Linked DNA regions of Homo sapiens: region 1 is linked to region 2. The links are contacts of gene promoters, found by promoter capture Hi-C in human tissues and cell types (Jung and others, 2019). All regions are on one chromosome and are shown on one strand. Each heading gives the region's core, a stretch centred on a gene start or on the middle of the fragment in contact. The rest is flanking DNA. Distances are from core to core; before and after follow the strand shown. Region 1 overlaps ABHD12 (abhydrolase domain containing 12, lysophospholipase). Region 2 holds the start of GINS1 (GINS complex subunit 1).

Evidence for each region. Contacts are between HindIII fragments. The study calls those that stand out against the background at their distance.
Region 1: a fragment that was not itself captured here is called in contact with the fragment with the promoter of GINS1 in region 2 in 2 of the 25 tissues and cell types used here (IMR-90 fibroblasts and hippocampus).

The regions. Positions count from the first base shown.
Region 1 is chr20:25,352,565-25,356,681 of GRCh38, reverse strand. The region is part of intron 1 of ABHD12 (abhydrolase domain containing 12, lysophospholipase); the gene reads left to right. Among named protein-coding and RNA genes, the nearest start is that of ABHD12, 36 kb to the left of the region's middle. RefSeq lists an enhancer at 1-187. The HindIII fragment of the contact is 7,479 bases long and covers 1-4,117 here.
Region 2 is chr20:25,406,371-25,410,507 of GRCh38, reverse strand. GINS1 (GINS complex subunit 1) reads right to left here and starts at 2,835. Exons shown (of 7, transcript NM_021067.5): 1 at 2,613-2,835. The coding sequence starts at 2,687. LOC105372581 (a long non-coding RNA gene) reads left to right here and starts at 2,213. Exons shown (of 3, transcript XR_937403.3): 1 at 2,213-2,437. RefSeq lists enhancers at 1,689-2,446, 2,544-2,793. The HindIII fragment of the contact is 13,310 bases long and covers 1-4,137 here.

The DNA.
Region 1 (4,117 bases), core at 890-3,389, 53 kb after region 2:
GGTGCTCCGCAGGGCTTTTAAAGTCCTCAGACTGAGGGCCCAGCCCTCTCTTCCTCCCCCGTCAAAGGAACCAGGGCAGGTTGTTCAAACAGTTACCCTGGACAGTAGGAGGAAAAGGAAATCACTGTCAAACTGGCAGAGGGAACGCTGGCACCTCTGCCACACTCCCTGCCCAGCTGCTGTTCAGCAAGGCCCTGAAGGCCCACACCTCCCAGTCCTGTAATCTAAGGGATATCCACAGAGGGACCTGCACCCTGCAAGGAAAGTGTGCAAGAGCAGCGCCTGGGAAAGCCATCTGCCACCTCTGAAAGCAGACAGGTGGCCATCTGCCTGGCTGAGCTGATAGAAAAGCCTCTTGCAGGCACTGAGTGTTTATTGATATGTGGCAACCTAAGGAGCCCTGTGCCCCCGTGGGAAGCAAAACCTCCGCAGTCTCAGGTGCAAGAGTGGAGACCTAGAGGAGCTACCATAAATGTCTGACCCTGGATGTGTTTTTTCCCTTGCAGTTTTACAGATGCTGTTTGATGGGAAGGCTTTACATAGTACACTCAGGGTATGCCCTTCTTCATCACCACCAAGCGCAGAAACTGCATCAATAGAAACAGGCTTCATCAACACAGATGATCTTGTGGGCTCCCCTGGTTGTTAGAATGGCTTTTGTTCTCTCAGGAAAGGACTCTGTGTCTGTCCATCAGTACCTCCTATTATTGGCCCAGTTTCACAGCTCAAAGCATGCAAAAGGAAGTCAGCCTCCTGAAATATAAATGACAACTTTTATTTGGTGGCATGCAGTGAAACTTTTTTTTCTTAAAAATACCCTTTATGGGCTGGGCGCAGTGGCTCACGCCTGTAATCCCAGCACTTTGGGAGGCTGAGGCCGGTGGATCACGAGATCAGGAGATTGAGACCATCCTGGCCAACATGGTGAAACCCCGTCTCTACTAAAAATACAAAAATTACCTGGGCATGGTGGTGGGTGCCTGTAATCCCAGCTACTCGGGAGGCTGAGGTAGGAGAATGGCTTGAACCCGGGAGGCGGAGGTTGCAGTGAGCTGGGATCGTGCCACTGCACTCCAGCCTGGTGACAGAGCAAGACTGTCTCAAAAACAAACAAACAACAAAAAAAAAACCGTTTATACTTTGTCAAATGCAGTATGGGAAATCAAAGTACAAAACAACAAAAAAACCCTTTAAATTTCCCAAAGAAAATGTTTTACTCTTTTAGCAGGAAATGGTAAAAACAAAAAGGGGGAAGTGGCAACAGAAAGCTTTCTAGATTGAGTTCAGGGACACAGCATTTCTTCTTAAGCATGATGAGCTCAGCTTTTTTTTTCTATATTGCCCTTAAAACTGGGGACAGGGTCTGTTTTTTAAAATCTTTGTTTTCTGCATATTTCTCTTTGATAGGCAGCAGCAGGGAATGGAAGTGCTCTTCTTGTAGTCTGGAGGGGCTGCATTAAGTGTCGTCCAGCCTGCAGGTCGTCAGGATGGAAAACATCAGTTGTGTACATGCATGATGTGGCACCAGTGAATCCAGTGGTGCCCAGAACACCCCACTGTAGCTTAGCAGGAATGTGCTGCATTATTTGAGAGTGGGGGCCCTCTGGAGTGATTGTACCTTTACTTTTCCTGTTTCCTGATCCAAATACAAAATCATTGACAGCTCAGACCTCTTAGGAAATAATGTCTTTGTTCTTCAAAGTAGTCTAATTATGCTTGAGTATCTGTTCAGAAAGTACAGAAAGAGAAGAAAGAGATAGGAAAGAGAAAGCAAAGTCAGGTAAAAGAAGGGATAGATGTGATTGGGGTAGGTTTCTAATTCTGAACTGCTGGAGGGAGGCCAAACACTGTCATTCTAAGAAAATACGACAGTCAAAAGCTGAGGAAACCAGACAAGTTAATTTTTTTTTTCTAAAATAGTAATTTTTTTTTCTAATTATAACAATTCTATCTTAGGATTTTATTGCACTTAATAGTTTGGCTTGTCAGATTTCTTTTGGTGTCACTGTCTTTCACCATCCATTTGGGATCCTGTGGTTGTGTAAATGGGGAACCAAAAGGGTCCTCATCATGGCCATCAGGAAAGATGGGCTGTGTCCAGTTCCAATGGACAGTGCATCTTGTACACAAGCCTCAGCTTTTCATCTGTAACACGTGGCTTATGTACAGCCTTTTAGACTATGAGGCATGAATAGCAAACAGTGGCAATCGATGCTGAAAAACCAGAATGTTTAAAAACTGGGCCATAAAAATGTAGAACGTATTCTGTCACCAGAGCTGGGGTCAGTGGGGTGACCCCCTCCCTGCCTCCCTGCCCCCCAGTTCTCCCCAGACCTTCCTGCCTGCCTGTTTCCTGCCTCCAGGACAGTGTGCACCCTGTGTCCGTCTTCTGCCGCTACACCTGTGAACTGGCACCACAGGTGGGAACAGCCCTTCAGGCCAGATTCTGGTTTTTGGTTTTTGCTTTACTGCCAAATATGATCTAGTGCTACATTCAACTTAGTTGATTTATTGAGGCTATAAATTCCTACCCATTTGTTTATTCACTTAGGAATTTGCTTTAGGTCTTGAAATAAGAACCTCCCCGTCCTTAAAGATTAAAGGCTTTATTTGGCCGCTCCAGGATGGCTTCCTTTGTCTCCAAATTCCCATTCCCCTTGGGTTTATACAAAGACCACTGCGAAGGAGAGTCCAGCATCCTCAGTATCCTGACCAGCCTGTTCCAAATGTCAGCGGCAGGGGAGACCTTGAGACACTGAAGTGCAGGTGGTGGCACGTTAGTGATCACGCAGCAGTCATTCTTTGATGAGCAGAAACCACGGCCTGACGTTGAGTTTGGTTCTGCAGAGGACAGAAGGAAAGGCCAGGAAGGCGAAGTGAGCAGTGTGTCCCAAGGTGTGCAGACAGCCGTTGGCCCAGGCAGGCTATGGTCTCTAGGCCCAAGACAAATTTTAATTTCTCTATGCCTCGGGTGCTTGCTTATTTCCTGGACCTTGGAAGGATCACAGCAACTCTCCCGTAAGAGCCAAGGGTCTGCCTGCCGGGGGTAGAAGCTAACATTCTCAGTCCTGCTCTAAAGTGAACCCAGCAGCAGCCCAGCCTGTACAGAATACAGCTGGGTCAGGCTTAGGTTCAGCTGTGTTTTTCCCTTTGGGGCCTTTATCTGTGTGCCCTCCTGAGTGCTGCATAAATAACCATATTCCCAAACACATGTTTTGAGAGCATTGTCTTTTGGAAGAGTTAGAAGGTAATGCTGCATATTCTGCTTAAATATTTACATATTCTGCTTATAAATTTGCTTATTCTTTAAATTTTTTGTTTGAGTTATTTACTTTCATTTACAGATACTTGTTCACACTTTGGGAATTAACTTTAAAGGTATATTAAACATGGCATGTTTGCCAGGAAAAAAAAAAACAGAAACAAACAAAAAAAACACCTATGGCTTGCCCTCAGCTCTAGAATTTGGAAAAAGCATTATATGAGATTTCTGATTTATTTTGTCTGTTATTTTGGTATTACTTAGAGATTCAATTTTTAAACTAGCTAATTTTCATTTACAGATTATTTGTATGTGTCCTTCATAATTAGATGACAGAACTGTGGTGGCGATAGAGCTGCTAATTTAAAATCACCAATTTTGGAGGCTCTGTTTGTTTATTTATAAAAATAGAGACAGAGTCTCACTCTTGCCCAGGCTTGAGTGCAGTGACGTGATCATAGCTCACTACAGACTCAGCCTTCAGAGTAGCTGGGACTATGGGTACACACCACCACATCTCGTTAATTTTTTTTTTAAATTAAGACACCTGGTCTCACTGTGTTGCCCAGGCTGGTCCTGAACTCCTGTCCTCAAGCTATTCTCTTGCTTTGGCCTCCCAAAGTGCTGGAATTATAGGCATCAGCTACCATGCCTGGCCTGTATGTATTTTAATTAGAATTCATTTTAATTTTGAGAAATCTTTTTGATAGATATGTACAATAAATAGATACGCTTTTCAAGAACACTGTCCTGAGCTTGAGAGATACAGATAGTCACTTAATTAGCAGTCCCTTCATTTAGCCTATCACTTTAATAAACAAATGTGGTTGTGCCAGGCATGGTGACTCATGCCTG
Region 2 (4,137 bases), core at 1,586-4,085:
TGCCGCTGAGTCGGAGGCCAGCCTCTGCAGGCTGACTAAGTGTTCCAGGCTGCTGGATCACCTTGAGTATCAGGTGGGTTTGTCAGTGGAAGGCACTAGTGAGACAAAAGGTGCTCCACCAAATTAAGACCTACAAGACAGTGATTCTACAACTTTTTTTTTTTTTTGAGGCGGAGTCTCTCTCTGTCGCCCAGGCTGTAGTGCAGTGACCCGATCTTGGCTCACTGCAACCTCCGCCTCCCAGATTCAAGCCATTCTCCTGCCTCAGCCTTCCGAGTAGCTGGGACTACAGGCACATCCCACCACGCCTGGCTAATTTTTTGTATTTTTAGTAGATACGGGGTTTCACCATGTTAGCCAGGATGGTCTCAATCTCAGGACCCTGTAATCCGCCCGCCTCAGCCTCCCAAAGTGGGGGGATTACAGGCGTGAGCCACCACTCCTGGCCTGATTCTACAACTTCTAAGACCAGCCCCTAGCCCCACAAAGTGATAACCCAACACTTAACTTAAAATTTGAGTAAAACAGAGAGCTAAACTAAGTGTCAGAGTCAGGTCCAAAATCCAGCTTGGCCGCACCTGTTTGCACAGTCTCTCTGTTCTCTAGGCCTGTGTCCTGATATGTACAATGACCTCTAAAGTTCCTAGTTCTCAGGCCACATTTTAGCATTTACACACTTCTGCATTCAAGCATCTCTACTGAGCTGCAGACTGCTGCCTAACTTTTTAAATGAGGTAACTGCTCTGAAGTTGAAAAAACAATTGACTAGAAACTGGAAAACCTGTGTTCAAGTTGAAGCTCTACCTCCAATATGCTGTAAATTCAGACGAGTTCCTTAACTTGACCCATAATTTGTGTCAGCTCAGTTTCTTCATTTGTAAGACAATCTAATTGTCTGGCTAGGTGCTCTTTAGTGTTCAAAACAAAACTCATTACCTTTCCCAACACACTCTATCTCCTGAACTCTGATGTTGTTTACCCAGTTTCCTAAGGATCCTCCAAGATCCCAATTCCTCCCTCTTATTCATTATGGACCCCATCTCTGCCCCTGCTCTAATAGCTACAAGTCATGTTTGCTTCATGTCTCTAAAACCCAAACACTGATCTCAGTGCCACTGACCTGACACAGTTCAGACCACACACCTCTCACCTGCTCTATCAGCCACCCAGTAGCCATCTCCCTGTCCCATTCTTTCCTCTCTTCAATCCATTCCCCATATTGCTGCCGCAGTTACCTTCAAAACACAAAAATTACCCTATCACTTCCTTGTCTAAAATCCTCTACCAGCTCCCAGCATGCCTTATAAGTGAACAACAAATTCATGTAGGCTGTGAGCCACCTTCCTAGACTCCCCACAGGCCCTATTGGTCACCCTCTCCAGTGTGACCACGTGACTTTGTGCTGCAGCATCCTTTGGCTGGGATGCCTCGCTTCCTTCTCAGATCAGTAACCTCATCCTTGAGGATGGAAAGGCTCATATATCACCTCTTCTACCCCAGCTCATACTGGTGTTTCTCCTTCGTGCTCCTTGCTATACCTCCTTAGTATCACTTAGCGTGGTGAATTCTATTATCTGTTTTTGTGCCCATCTTCCAGCAGAATGTGTCCTGACATCCACATAATGCCTGCTCTATGACGTAAGTGAAATATACAATTTAGAGTGCAGGCTCTGGAGCCAGAGTGCCAGGGTTCAAATCCTAGCTTTCTTGCTGTGTCACCTTAGGCAATATACTTAAATCTCCCCAATCCTATGCATATATAGCTGAAAAAAGTAGAAAACAATAGTTTAAACATCAAAAAGTTATTTTTGTTTTGTTTGGGACAGGGTCTCCCTGTCACTCAGGCTGGAATGCAGTGGCAGGATCAAGCGATCCTCCCGCCTCAGCCTCCCAAAGTGCTGGGATTACAGGCAGGAGCCATGGTACCGGGCCCTCAAAGGGTTATTAGAAAGACAAAAGATAATGTACATGAAGTGCTTAGCACTCTCCCTGGGGTAGCAGTGATAGAAAAATACAAATAATCATAATATTAATAGTAACAGCAGCAGCAGGAGAAAAGTAATATTAATAGCTAACACTGACTCAGCCCTTACTGTATGTGAGGCATATGCAGAGACCCTTACACATGCCACTCATTTTGCGTCCACTACATCATGCGTTGGGTACTATTATTGTCACCATCCCCATTTTTGCGTATGAGAAAACTGAGAGCACAGAAAGCTTGAGTAACTGCCCCAAAGTCACACTACAGAACCAGAATCTCAGCCAGGTTCCAGAGGCCTAGCTTTTACTGACCACGATTAGATGCCTGAGTGAGCAAGAAATGCTAAATTATCAGGCAACCTGTAAATATTTTAAGGGACCGGAACAAATCTGTCCAAGGAAAACTGCTAAAATGCAAAATTTGCTCAGATGAGGAAATTCACCAAATCGCTGGGTAGCGTAAGCATGAATGCTTTCTCTTTCCTCCTGAATTTTGTTTTGCTGCTTCCCAAGTTTTCCGGAGCTCGGAGGGAACAAGGTGCGAAAGTGAACCCTGACGGGGAGCCGCCCCGCCCCAGAGCCCAGGGCCCAACGCCGGCATGCCCCGTCCAAGTCTACCCGCCCCTCACGTTGAAGGCAGGCAGTTGCCCTTCGGGCGCGCGATGCAGCTCGCGGATCAGTTCCATGGCTTTTTCGCAGAACATGGCGGACGCTTCCCACTCCCGCGGCCTTGCCAACCACCAGCTCTCACGCCAAAATGGTATCTGGGCTCTCGGCGCCTCACTCCTTTCGTTCTAGTCCTACAGCGCCAGGCTCTCGCCTCGGCCTCCGCTCCGCGCTTTGGCGCCGAACAAAGCTAGCCAATAGGAACGCGCCTACGGCGCCCGAAAAGGGACATCCACCGCTCAGCCGCATTCCAAGAGGGGCGGAGTGGGAGGGGTCTTTCCAAGGTGAGGTCCCCGCCCCGGAGATGGCAGAACCCCTCGGCTGAGCAGAGACGGCTTTTCCAGTTCTCAGGCAGTGGGCCGGGGGACTCTACGGGCAGCAGAGCTGGAAATAAATGCACGCCCCGCAGCTTCCTTGTCATTTTCCTTTTGATTCATTCATTCTCGTTTAGGTTCAAGAAAAGAGCACTTTGAGGTTAAGAGGAAAGGCCCAAAAACTTGGTGTGCATTGGTAGGACGCAAGGGTTTCAGTTTTGCAGTGCGGGTTTTCTGTTTGATATTAAAATGAAACTCTCTTTTATTGGGTACCTAGTGCTGGTAGGGACTGCAGTGTGTATTTCATTCCCACAATTATCTCTGAAGTGTTTTAAGACCCGGGATTAATAAGGAAACAGAAGTTAGGTAACTTGCCCAAGGTCACACAGCTCCAGAGTGATTAGACTGTTATTTAGGCTTTCCATTTCCAACACCACAGTACCACCCTTTGATTTTAAAATAGTCTTTTAAAAATATTTGTAATATCTGCCCTAGATTAATACGAATTCACTAGGAATTTTCTTGGCTAGATGGTTATGGAATATTTCTTAAGCATATGGAAGATGGGAATCACTGCTAAAGAATTGTTTTATTAGGCAATTTTTCAAAAAGCAATGTTAATTTCTAACAAGCAATCTTGGATTTTTTTTTTTTTGAGATGGAGTCTCGCTCTGTCGCCCAGGCTGGAGTGCAGTGGCGCGAACTCGGCTCACTGTAAGCTCCGCCTCCCGGGTTCACGCCATTCTCCTGCCTCAGCCTCCCGAGTAGCTGGGACTACAGGCGCCCGCCACCACGCCCAGCTAATTTTTTGAATTTTTTAAGTATAGACGGGGTTTCACCGTGTTAGCCAGGACGGTCTCAATTTCCTGACCTCGTGATCCGCCCACCTCGGCCTCCCAAAGTGCTGGGATTACAGGCATGAGCCACCGCAACCGGCGCAATCTTGGATTAATTCTAGCTAACCCTAGAAACTATGTTGATCTTTTGCAAATATACAGTAGATATGTCATCTAAGGAATGGGCATGGGAATGGCCTACTCAGGCTTATGTTGAATAATGACATTGCCTTTTTTTTTTGGAGACAGGGTCTTAACTCCCGTTACCCAGGTGGAGTGCAGTGGCGCCATCTCAGCTCACTGCAGCCTCCACTTCCCGGGCTGAGGTAATTTTCCCC